Linked DNA regions of Homo sapiens: regions 1 and 2 are each linked to region 3. The links are contacts of gene promoters, found by promoter capture Hi-C in blood cells and fetal thymus (Javierre and others, 2016). All regions are on one chromosome and are shown on one strand. Each heading gives the region's core, a stretch centred on a gene start or on the middle of the fragment in contact. The rest is flanking DNA. Distances are from core to core; before and after follow the strand shown. Region 1 overlaps PTPN18 (protein tyrosine phosphatase non-receptor type 18). Region 2 holds the start of IMP4 (IMP U3 small nucleolar ribonucleoprotein 4). Region 3 holds the start of GYPC (glycophorin C (Gerbich blood group)).

Region 1 (3,696 bases), core at 1,086-3,585, 3.7 Mb before region 3:
CAAGTATTGCCAGGAACCCTGCCCCTGGACCGCGACTGCGACCGCCAGGGGGCGCTTCCGGGGCGTGGCCAGGGACGCCTGGACATCAGCGTCGGGGCGTGGCCAGGCTAGCGGCTGGGGTCCCCGCGGCCGCCAGGGCCTGACGGACCACTGCAGGATGGTTCCGCCCTGCGGATCACAGCAGGATGATGCCCTGAGAAGGAGCAAGCCTCGACTCACCGCGGCCAGGCAGCGTCCCCCTCGCGTCCTCCGCGTGCGCCCCGGGTCGCTGGGCGCGCGGCGTCACCTTGCTGTAGAGCGGCGCCTCCTCCGCGCTGCGCGCCCCCGTCCCCGTCCCCGTCCCCGTCTGCGTCCCACTCCCGGCGCCCGCTGGAGCCCCGCGCTTCTGCACCACCGCGTAGGTGTCAGCCATGGCGTGGCCCGGGGACCCGGGCACAGAGATGCTCCTGCAGGCAGGGAGGGCCGGGAGGAAGTGAAACGGCGGCGCTGGGCAGGGCGGGAGTGGGGAGGCTGCTCAGCGCGCAAACCACGGGCTTCCTTCCCGCCGAGGCGGTGCGCTAGATGGGAGGGAGGGCTCCTTGGGTTGGAGGCCTCGCTTCTGTGTCCCTAGCGCCCTGCAAGTTAGGGGGATGAAGGAGGAACGGGGTCAGCCTGGAGGGTAATTTGGGGCAGAGTGTTGGTTTGAGGGGTGGTCATTTCTGTGTCAACGTCTACTGAACAAAAGAATGCGGAAGTGGCATAGAAGACAGGAAGGGATGGCCGCAAGGACAAGGGCCTTAAGTCTCCGCTGCGAAGGCGGCTCAATCCCATGTCCGCAGCACCCAACGTGCGGCCTGACAAGAAGGCGGCGTCTAGAATTATTTGCTGAATTTTTTTTGTTGTTTTTTTGAGACAGGATCTCGCTCTGTCGCCCAGGCTGGACTGCCGTGGTGCGATCTCGGCTTACTGCAACCTCCACCTCCCGGGCTCAAGCGACTCTCCTGCCTCAGCCTCCGGAGTAGCTGGGATTACAGGCTCTCACCAGCACGCCTGGCTAATTTTTGTATTTTTAGTAGAGACAGGGTTTCACCATGTTAACCAGGCTGGTCTCCAGCTGGGCTCAAGTGATCCGCCCTCCTTGGCCTCCCGAAGTGCTGGGATTACAGGGGTGAGCCACCTGAATTAAGGTTTGATTAGAGGATCCAGGAAAGGCCTAACTCAGAAGGCAGGGCAAGCCTTAGAGGCAGAGGCAAGGGGTAAATGAATCATCTTGGGATAATTGAATCATCTTGGGGTGGGTTCCCAGAGCTCAATTCGAAGAAAGGGCCAGCGAACACTTGGCGAAGTGAACAAGGAACGGACTGGTGTTCCAAGGATGAAGAAGGGGTTAGCCTGAGAAATTGGGCAGGGAAGAATCCGGGGATGGAGCCGGGTACCTGAGGACCCCTCCTGGTGGGCGGGGTATGGCGAGAAGTGCCTGGGGAGTCCGGAGGAAGAGGGCATCGTCGTAGAGTGGGGCACAATTCTGAAGAAAAACAGGAGGGGAGGCTCCTGAGGGAGGAAGCTGGCCAGGCCTCTCAAGGGGCTCTGGGAGAAAGCTTAAGATGGGAGAGCCTGATAAGGATGCCTGGAGGAGGGCACAGGTGGATGTCATAGTCAGTGCCTGCTCCCAGTAGTCCCGGGGGCTGGACCCTGCTCGGGGTCCTGGTCTCTGAGGGTGCTGATGGTGGACAGGAGAGTGGGAAAGGAGCCTCTGTACCTCTTTGATGTTCTGGTAGTGGGGGCTGGCATTCTGGAGTGTGGAGCAGAACATCTGAGCCACCGTGTGGTACAGGAACCTGTACTGCTCCTGTTGGGGTGAGGGACCATCAAGAAGGGAAGGCAGGGGCAAATGACAGCAGTGGGCCACTGTCCCTGAAGATTAGGAGACCCAGGGTTCACCTCTGTCTGCACGGCCGCAGGCCGCTGCTTCCTCATCTTAAGGACCACATCAAAGAGACTGAAGTCAGGTGGGATCATCTGGGGCAGACAGACAAGGCACTTGAGCAGGACACGTGGTCATGGGCAGCACACTGCACACACAGGATGCCTGTATCGTACCTGGGTCAGGAGCAGCTGCCTCACATAATCCACGGTGCACAGGACGCCTGTTCGCCCACAACCCGCACTGACAAGAGAATCAGAGTGTGCCTGGTCAGGTCCTGACCACAACCCCTTTTAGATGGGGCATTTGGGGATGGGGGTGAGGGTCCTGATGGATCCCCTGCAGAGCCTCTTGATTCCCAGAATCTTCAGATTATATCTGAACAAGGAAAACCTTTTTAATCACTTACATTTTGTTGAGCAAGAGCTGTGTGCTTATTCCCCAGCTGAGTCTGTGCTGAACAAGTGCTCACAATTACAGTCCATGGAGGGTGAGCAAGGGTTCTCAAAATAGGCACTCAGACTACAAGACTAGCCCCATGCCCTGTACTCCCCTCCATGCTCTGTCCCCTCTGCCTCACCAGACCCTCCTGAAGCCCATTTCCAAAACCTGCAGTGGACACAGAGGGGTTCAGGGCCAGATCCCTGGAGGCGACGGGCTTCCTCCACCATGGCGAGCATGTGGTCAGGACTGCTGGGGACCCCACGGTCTGGCCAGGACATATACTGTAGCTGGTACACAGAACGGGACTCCTGAAACACAGAAAAAGATGAGCAAAAGACTTAGGAAAAAAAAGAAAAAAGCATTAATTGGCCATCTACTATACACCAGGCCCACTTCTAGGCATCTTCCATTTATGTCTACCAGACAATAACTGAGGAAGTGGGTACTAGTATGATGCCCATTTTTACAGGAGAGGAAACCTCTCCCCTTTCAGGAGCCCCTTTACCTCCTCCTCCCCTGTCACAGTACCTTCTGGAATGTGACCTTGAGGGTCCTGAGCATGATGTCCTCATTCAGCCACTTCTCCTTTATCTGAGTAAGGGGGGTGGGGCAAGTAAGAAGAGGGAGGAGAACAAAGATCATAGGTACCAGAAGACATTTATAGAAAGCAAAGCATTCCTGATTAAAAAATCAAATACAGAAAACATTTTAAAAATTCATATAGCCCAAACTTTCCCCAAAGCTTTCATTAAGGAAACATTTGACACAGGAGCAAAAGAGGAACTATTATAAAAACACAAGCCCTTTTGCAATGAAAAGAGATGTCTTTTGTTCTAAAATGAAACTTTTATTGCATTTATTAAGTACTAACTGTATGTATGACTTGAGAGAGTTCCCCAAGCTCTTTTGAAATGGTAAGAGAAGTAAGAATTTCAACAACCTAACCAGGCACATTTACATGACAGAGATTAACTGATTGTAGCCAAAATAAAAATGCAAAGGCTATCCCTATAGTAAGTTCTAACTATTTGCAGGCTAACACCAGAGGGTTTCCTGCAGTATGAGTGGACTGTGGGTTAAATCATTCAACCTTTTAGGCCCAACCCAAAGCCTTTCCACCCTGGGAATCTTCCTTGAAAACTCCCACAGCTCACCAGAGTGATGCAGAAAAGCCCAGTCTGCAGTGGCTCCTGCTCCTGGGCCCAGTACCGCTCACACCTTTTCTGCAAAAGGTAAGGGAGAAAAGGCAGGGAGTGAGAAGAGGGAGTCAGCTTCAGAGCTAGCTCAATCATGCCACAAGACACCCCAGGTGCTCGTGGTGGAAGCACAGGCAGCTATACTTATAACCT
Region 2 (3,650 bases), core at 237-2,736, 3.7 Mb before region 3:
TGTATTGCTTTTATAATCAGGTAGAAATCTAAACATCGATTTTTTTTTTTTTTGAGACGGAGTCTCGCTCTGTCACCCAGGCAGAGCAGTGCAGTGGTGCCATCTCGGCTCACTGCAAGCTCCGCTTCCTGGGTTCACGCCATTCTCCTGCCTCAGGCTGGCGAGTAGCTGGGACTACAGGAGCCCGCCACGGCGCCCGGCTAATTTTTTATATTTTTAGTAGAGACGGGGTTTCACCGTGTTAGCCAGGATGGTCTCGATCTCCTGACCTCGTGATCCACCCGCTTCGGCCTCCCAAAGTGCTGGGATTACAGGCGTGAGCCACAGCGCTCGGCCTTAAAAATTACTTTTGAAAAGAAATATAGACTGTTCTGTACGTATGATGGTGGACCAGAGACCTTTAAGCTCTCAGACAGCAAAACCGTTGGTCACGATGCCCACAGCGCTTCGAAGGCATGGCTTCAGCGGGCCCTGGACCACAGGCTGCCTACCGCAGAGCACAGCGCTCCAGGTGCGCACTCGGGGCCAGCACTGTTCCCCACGGAGCTCAGAGGAACTCCTGCAGGGAGGATGGGCAGCGCAGTCTGCAGCACCAGCGCTATCCAGATAGTCTTTAGAGAGAATTTCTTTTTTTTTTTTTTTTTGAGACGGAGTCTTGCTTTTTTGCCCAGGCTGGAGTGCAGTGGCAGGATCTCGGCTCACTGCAACCTCCGCCTCCCGGGTTCAAGCGATTCTCCTGCCTCAGCCTCCTGAGTAGCTGGGATTACAGGCGCGTGCCACCACGGCCGGCTAATTTTTGTATGTTTAGTAGAGACGAGATTTCACCATGTTGGTCAGGCTCGAACTCCTGACCTCATGATCCGCCCGCCTCGGCCTCCCAAAGTGCTGGGATTACAGCAGTGAGCCACCGCTCTAAAGAGAATTTCTACAGGACAAGATAAAGTCTTTAAAACTTGGGACGAACTTGACACACTGCACACAGCGGGCAAGCTGCAAAACCCGGGTACTGCAACGTCAGTGACAAGTAATTAATACCATCACACGGAAGAAACACTCTCAAAACCAACAGGAGAACCCAATGGGCAAGGAAAACGGCCGGCAAGCATTTGGAAAGACGCTCGGATATTCGAACACAAATGCGTGCCGGGGTGGTTTACCACGCAGACGCCCGCGGGGCCGATGCCTTACCTTCCAGCGCGCGCCGCAGCCGCTCCTTCCTCTCCTGGGCTGAGCGCTGCGCCTCCTCCCGGGCCTTGCGGTACAGGTACTCGCGGCGCAGGCGGGCCTCGCGGCGCAGCTGTGGGAACAGCAGGCCCAGTCACTCACTACTCGCTCCCGAGCCCCGGAACCCCGGAGCCCCGGAGCCGCTGAGCCTCCAAGTCCCCAGAGCCACATCCCCAGCACTTCACGCGCCCCGGACCTCCGAAACAGGAGCTCATTCTCCTACCATCTTGAGTGCCGCTTCCACGTGGGTCCGGGAGAATCTGTGGGCTCCTCCAGCGCGACACAGTCCTCACTTCCGCCCTCAACCAAGATGGTCCCTTAGACGCTTCACTGGTGCCTGCAGCTGTGGGGAATGCCCTATGTTAAGATGGCGAATAGGGCGGGGACATCTCAAGGCGATTGGCCATTCCGGCAGGGCGTTCTCCTTGGGATAACCGATAGACTGGATACAGAATGTCACACGTGACTTAGGACCGCAGCTAATAAATATGTCCGCCCAGGCTTCTCCATCCTCGTCCTCCCCCCACCACCGCCGTGCAGAATGCAGTTTTCAGATGACGAACCGCTAAAACAATCATAATTAGCGGCTGGAAACAGTTCAACTGTAAAAACCGCACACCGACTGAAGGTTGCTTGCCGGCTCCTTTCCAAATTAACTTTAAAACCACTCTTCCCTCAACCAAAATGGTTTCTGTAGAGCTTCGCCTTCTTCCATCGCCACAACAGTGGCGCGACTTCTAAGATTCGGCAGCTTCCGGAAGGACTCAGAACCACCTATAACCCTAGCCGACAGTTCAGCAGGCTGATCCACTTGGGGGCTAATTGGAGAAACCAGTTGATTGGTTGCTTCCGTGCTGCTTCTCTAAGGGCGCTTGCCCTTAAAGAAGCTGACCCAGAGGCCTTGGTGCTGCCGGCGTGGGGATCCCCAGATGGGAACGCCCCTTGATGGAGGATCTCGTGTGCCTATTGGCTGTCCTGCCAAACTGCGGAGGGTGACAAGGAAGAAGGTGGCTCCAGATCTGGAGGTGTGTCCATGGCGGCGCTTGACCTGCGAGCGGAGCTGGATTCGCTGGTCCTGCAGCTGCTTGGGGACCTGGAGGAGCTGGAGGGGAAACGAACGGTGTTGAACGCCCGGGTGGAGGAGGTAGGCGCCTGGGGCGGGCAGGAGGGTACACGGGCGTAAACTGAGTCTCACCGCTTTCCTCTCCCTGCAGGGCTGGCTCTCGCTCGCCAAGGCTCGCTACGCGATGGGCGCCAAGTCGGTAGGGCCCCTGCAGTATGCTTCCCACATGGAGCCCCAGGTCTGCCTCCACGCCAGGTGAGGAAGCTTCCATGCTGGGCTGGGTGGGCGGGCGGGCGCGTTCTAGGCCCGGGCTGCCAAAGCTCCATCCTCCCTTCTCGTCCTTCAGCGAGGCCCAGGAGGGACTCCAGAAGTTCAAGGTGGTGAGAGCTGGTGTCCACGCCCCAGAGGAGGTGGGGCCTCGCGAAGCAGGTGAGCCCCCTCTTCCTTCTGCAGAACCCCTTCCCAGTGTCAAAGACAAAATGCAAATTATGGAGATGATTTAAATTAGGTTTTTGCGATAAGAGAGAGCATCCCAGAGCAGAAGAACAGAATGTTTTTGTAGGGTGGTTTTGCCTTAGACTTTTATAGGAAGTAGAGAAATTGTTGGTGAGTTGCTTTACACTGGGAATAGATTTACAATCACATACATTTCAGTCAGCTGAACAGAAAATATTTATCTGTGTGTCTAGCTAGTTTCAGAGGGACAAACTTCTAATCCCAGTTAATCATCCTGAGACAAAGAATGGGGAGTTGGAACGTCTATGTCTGGTCTGTTGGCATGTTCAGGTACAATGGGTAAGATCAGTGTCACAGGCAAACAGGGTCATCAGTGGGTCTTACAGGAGTCACGGGAAAGAGTGGACAAACAGTCTCATCTGAATCACAAGGGGAAAGGCTGTGTTTTGTGGTAAGCTGTTTCCTGGAACCCCAAAGTTGGAATTTTCCAACCAACAGTGTTTTATAGAATCATGAGCTCAGATCAAGCTCAACATTGTCACCAAGATGATAAAGGTCAGGGAGTAAGATCCCAGCCTCCTCCAACCTTTCTTTCCTCAGGTCTGCGGAGGCGCAAGGGCCCCACTAAGACCCCAGAACCGGAGTCCTCTGAGGCCCCTCAGGACCCCCTGAACTGGTTTGGAATCCTAGTTCCTCACAGTCTACGTCAGGCTCAAGCAAGCTTCCGGGATGGTGAGTGGACCGTGTTGTTTGGCTCTGTGGCCCTCAGACCCTCTATCCACAGGGAACACTTGAGCACTGCTGCCATGGCTGGGGTTAGTCTGTGAAAGGCTTTGCAGGTTTTCCTCCATCCAAACTTCCGTTGTACACCCATTATTTTTTCCAAAAGCATTTACTGGTTGTTGGC
Region 3 (4,043 bases), core at 586-3,085:
TCCGCTCTAACCTCTGGCTCTGATGAGCAGCTACATAAACTGAGACAGGATATAGACACATCCTGCCTGAGTTAGCAGCAAGAAATAGCCGCCCCCCACCCCCCCTGCAGTTCTCGCACAGCAGGGATCCTGCCATAAATCAATCCGAAGTCTAATGTGGAATGGCTTGCAAGCAAGGGCTGCACCGCTGTTTGTCTCCCAAGGCAAGTGTTGAAGGTCTGAAACCTGAGTCCTGGAGAACTGCTTGGGCTGCTGGGCTGGGCTGGGCACGGGGGCGGGGGTCAGGCAAGCCCATCCTCTTCAGACATGAGAATGCCTCTCAGCCTCACCTCCTCAGTGACTGAATTGGAATAATGACAGTGGCTCCTGTCCCTTTAACCCAGGACCTGCCGTATACACACACATAAACATATGCTCAAGTTACGTGCTCCGGGAACCACAGTCTCATGTGCAATTATATAAACATGCCCAGCACGGATCCAGCACTTAGGATGTGTCAGACTCCGTGCCGGGACATTTATACGCACTTCGTGCTGCTGGATGAGTTATCTCCTGTTATTATTCCTACTTTCCTACTTTGCAGATGAGGAAACTGGAGCTAAGAGAGGCTGCCTTGTTTATAGGCAGTGCAGATGATCCCAGTGCAGACTGAGGGGCCTCGCTCCCAAGCACCACTGATGCCTGCGCACTCCCAGGCTGACGCAAGCACAACCACAGGCACATGGAGTGCCGTGTACACACGTAGACCGAAGCAGCACTCCTCCACGCCAAGCTCCAAGCTCAGGCGGGGTGAGGGGTGAGGCCTCACAACCCCCTGGATTTCAAAGACTTATAAAAGAGTTGGTGTCTCCAATACCCATATCATTATCATATCAATAAGGTATCATTGTCACATGATAGGCTCAGGGTATCTCCTCTCTGACAGACTCTAAGAATCAGACCGCGGCAGGGTGGGGGTAAGAGGGATGTACATTACGTTTTTTGGTAAAATCAAATGGTAGTTTTTATTGCAAAAGTCCAACGGCAGAGGAAGAGGGCAGAGAGAGGCCCAGCAATGTTTCCAAGCATCTACAAAGACTTTCATCACAGATGATTTCCTCTCAGCAAGAAAACGTGATGGTTTAAAAGAGAAAACCAGCAGCGAGGAATTACAAATCCCCAAAGGATCCAGGCCGCAGGATTCCCTCGCATCTGTGTGCCTTTGCGGCGCCCAGCGGAGCGAGCAAGTCCCTGGGCAAGGCTGGAGTTGCCTGGAGTTCACCGGAGCCTGGCCGGTCGGACCCTGGCTGGGGAGCAGCACAGAAGCAACTTGTGATGTGAACTCTCACCTAACTGTTCTTTAGGGAGACAATTCTGGCCCCACACATTTCACATGCCCCGCACAAAGAAACAGAAAGCGGGCGACACGCCCTGGGAGGGCGGGCTGGCGGCTTCTCCAGCTCGGAGCGCGTGGAGGCTGCGCGTAGGGGTCCGGGACGCGGGACAGGGACTCCGCGCAGCCCAGGCGCCGGGGAACCGGGGCTGGAGTCGGGGATCTGAGCCCAGCGGACGCCTCCTCCGCCTGGAGGCCCGGCACGGACCGGGACACCAGGGCGTCCGTGGCCGTGGCTCGGCCCCTGGCTGCTGCGGGCCGCGGCCTCCAGTGGGTCCCCAGGACCCTTCCCCACGGCGGGTACTCACCGAGGCTGAGAGGCCACGCCGTGCTGTTGGGGCTTCTCGTCGACCACATTCCTGGGCGTCAGCCCGGGCAGAGACCGCGGGGACTGGCCAGGCCGGGCCAGGCCGGGCCGGGGGAGGGTCGCGCTCCCGGGCTCCTGACCCTCGGCGGCGAGAGGAAGCGGCACCTGGGTCACACTCCTCCCGCGCGGGCCGAGGGGAGGGGCTCTGGCCCGGAGATAGGCAGACTTCATTTATTTTTTTTCTGCAGACTTGGCTGGTGGGGTTTCCACCCCCTTTTTTTTTTTTAAACACACACCCGCCCACTTCTGAACTCTTCTTTGCTCCAACTTTCCTGCGCAAGAACCACGCTTTTCTAACCGTTTCTCTTTCCATCTGCCACTACCGGATACAGAGGTTGTGGTTGAGAATTCCCCCTGGAGTGCAGGGAAAACTCCCCAATGTGACATGATGGCCTGGCCCAGCACTGTCGGGGATGGTGACCAAATAGGGCAGACCTGTGTTGAAATCTTGGCTGGCTGCGCGGCCGCTGGATAGCTGGGCGGCCTCTCTCAGCTGCGGGGCATTTGTCCCTGGAGAGAGTCCCTGTCTTGTTGGCCTTTGGGGGCCCTGTACTCATGGATGGGCTGTTGAGCAAAGATCATTCCAAAACAGGAAGAATTGCTGGACAAGAGTCGTGATTTGTTCCCATTGCTTTTGTCTGAAGCTGCCAGACACAGTGCAGTTTGTGAATTCGCTCTACTTTTGCCATGAAAATCTCCACGTGGATTTCGATACATACCTTTGTTGGTTAAATGCAGTCAAATGGCACCACCTACAAAAAATGTATCATAGCATTATCTGCCCCTTCTGCCCAGAGACAAGGGCAGGGAACTTGAGGCCCTTGTTTTAAATCCCCACCCAGGGGAACACCCTGTGCTTCTCCTGTGTGATGTCTGAACCTTCCTGTGCTGCTTTTCATTGTTTACTTTATAGTTCCCCAAGCACTTTTGTGACGCCCACCTCTCCCCTACCTTCTGCCATTAAGGCCTATCCTGCACAATCCGGAGAGCCAGGCCAGCTGTCTGTACAATGTATGGGCGGTGCCTTTGGGACTGTCATCTGCATTGAATACAATGAGAGGCTGCGCCCTGGAGATTTGCAACACAGAGGCTTTGCTCACCTCTAGCCGGGCTGCACAAACTCCAGGCCTTCTTGACGCAGTGGGAAAGCACTCATGATTCACTTTAGTTAGATCATGAAGAACCCCCGATGCTGATAGATCTTTACTCCAACTGCCATGTGCAGCACAGCCATGTTGAATTGAAATAAACTACTCACAGAATGCCTTTGGCCTGGTGGGGAAGCCCTGAGTCTTGATTTCCTCATCTATAAAATGGAGGCAAGAACACCTGCATTCCGGGGTTTTACAGAGGCAGTGATTGTAGAATCACAGTGGGAACAGAAAAGGCATTTAATAAACAGCAATGAGTAATGATTAATTTATTTTTATTTATTTATTTATTTATTTTTCTGAGACGGAGTTTTTGCTCTTGTTGCCCAGGCTGGAGTCCAACGGCGTGATCTCGGCTCACCACAACCTCCGCCTCCTGGGTTCAAGCAATTCTCCTGCCTCAACCTCTCGAGTAGCTGGGATTACCAGCATGTGCCTCCACGCCTGGCTAATTTTGTATTTTTAGTAGAGACGGGGTTTCTCCATGTTGGTCAGGCTGGTCTCGAACTCCCGACCTCAGGTGATCCACCCACCTTGGCCTTCCAAAGTGCTGGGATTACAGGCGTGAGCCACTGCACCCGTGATTACTTTAACAGTTTAACTTTTTTTTTTGGTAATACATACACATACGTCTACGTGGAACAGTAGTCCCGCTCCTCTGTCCTGAGAGAAAATAACTTTAATTATCTGAAATGCAGCTGGAAAGTTGGAAAGAAGCAGAAAGTTCTGCCAGGTAACAACGGACAAGTCATTAGGTCATTGCAGCACACTTAGAGAAGTCACTTTTACAGACTCATTTAGAACCTACTGGCCTTAGACGTAATCATAAGAGATTTCCTTAATTTCTTAGGGTAAGACAGGTTGAAGGCATCAAAATGTTGCAGAGAATTCCTTACAGAAAATAAGCCAAAAATTAATAAACTAACGAACTAAACAGTGAAAATTGAAAGCCCCACAAACTGCAGAGGTCAGATACAAGAACGAAGTAGCATTTGTTACAGAACTAAAGCAATCTCAGCTCCAGCCATCACTGGAGGATGTGACAGTTCCTTGCGCTATTAAAGACCACAGGGCTTTGGAACTCAATCTGGGTTAGTTACTCTACTGCCTACTAGCTGCGTAACCTTCAGCATTTCACTTTCTTTCTCTGAGC

Evidence for each region. Contacts are between HindIII fragments. The CHiCAGO score rates a contact against its expected background, and 5 or more counts as called.
Region 1: a contact is called between a fragment that was not itself captured here and the fragment with the promoter of GYPC in region 3, in 1 of 17 cell types (non-activated CD4 T cells). The highest score is 6.9, in non-activated CD4 T cells.
Region 2: a contact is called between the fragment with the promoter of IMP4 here and the fragment with the promoter of GYPC in region 3, in 1 of 17 cell types (naive CD8 T cells). The highest score is 6.8, in naive CD8 T cells.

Annotation. Positions count from the first base shown.
Region 1 is chr2:130,369,007-130,372,702 of GRCh38, reverse strand. PTPN18 (protein tyrosine phosphatase non-receptor type 18) reads right to left here. Exons shown (of 15, transcript NM_014369.4): 6 at 3,502-3,570; 7 at 2,876-2,938; 8 at 2,513-2,655; 9 at 2,080-2,146; 10 at 1,921-1,998; 11 at 1,739-1,828; 12 at 1,416-1,504; 13 at 220-446. Among named protein-coding and RNA genes, the nearest start is that of PTPN18, 15 kb to the right of the region's middle. RefSeq lists a silencer at 1-519 and an enhancer at 246-873. The HindIII fragment of the contact is 1,512 bases long and covers 1,580-3,091 here.
Region 2 is chr2:130,340,733-130,344,382 of GRCh38, reverse strand. It overlaps IMP4 (IMP U3 small nucleolar ribonucleoprotein 4), which reads right to left and starts at 1,486. Exons shown (of 9, transcript NM_033416.3): 1 at 1,448-1,486; 2 at 1,189-1,297. The coding sequence starts at 1,450. VMA22 (vacuolar ATPase assembly factor VMA22) reads left to right here and starts at 2,219. Exons shown (of 5, transcript NM_032357.4): 1 at 2,219-2,368; 2 at 2,439-2,542; 3 at 2,634-2,716; 4 at 3,344-3,475. The coding sequence starts at 2,258. RefSeq lists enhancers at 1,454-1,623, 1,754-2,303. The HindIII fragment of the contact is 8,635 bases long and covers 1-2,553 here.
Region 3 is chr2:126,653,950-126,657,992 of GRCh38, reverse strand. It overlaps GYPC (glycophorin C (Gerbich blood group)), which reads right to left and starts at 1,835. Exons shown (of 4, transcript NM_002101.5): 1 at 1,681-1,835. The coding sequence starts at 1,729. RefSeq lists enhancers at 136-365, 556-805, 263-1,102, 1,896-2,185 and a silencer at 1,436-1,805. The HindIII fragment of the contact is 9,683 bases long and covers 1-4,043 here.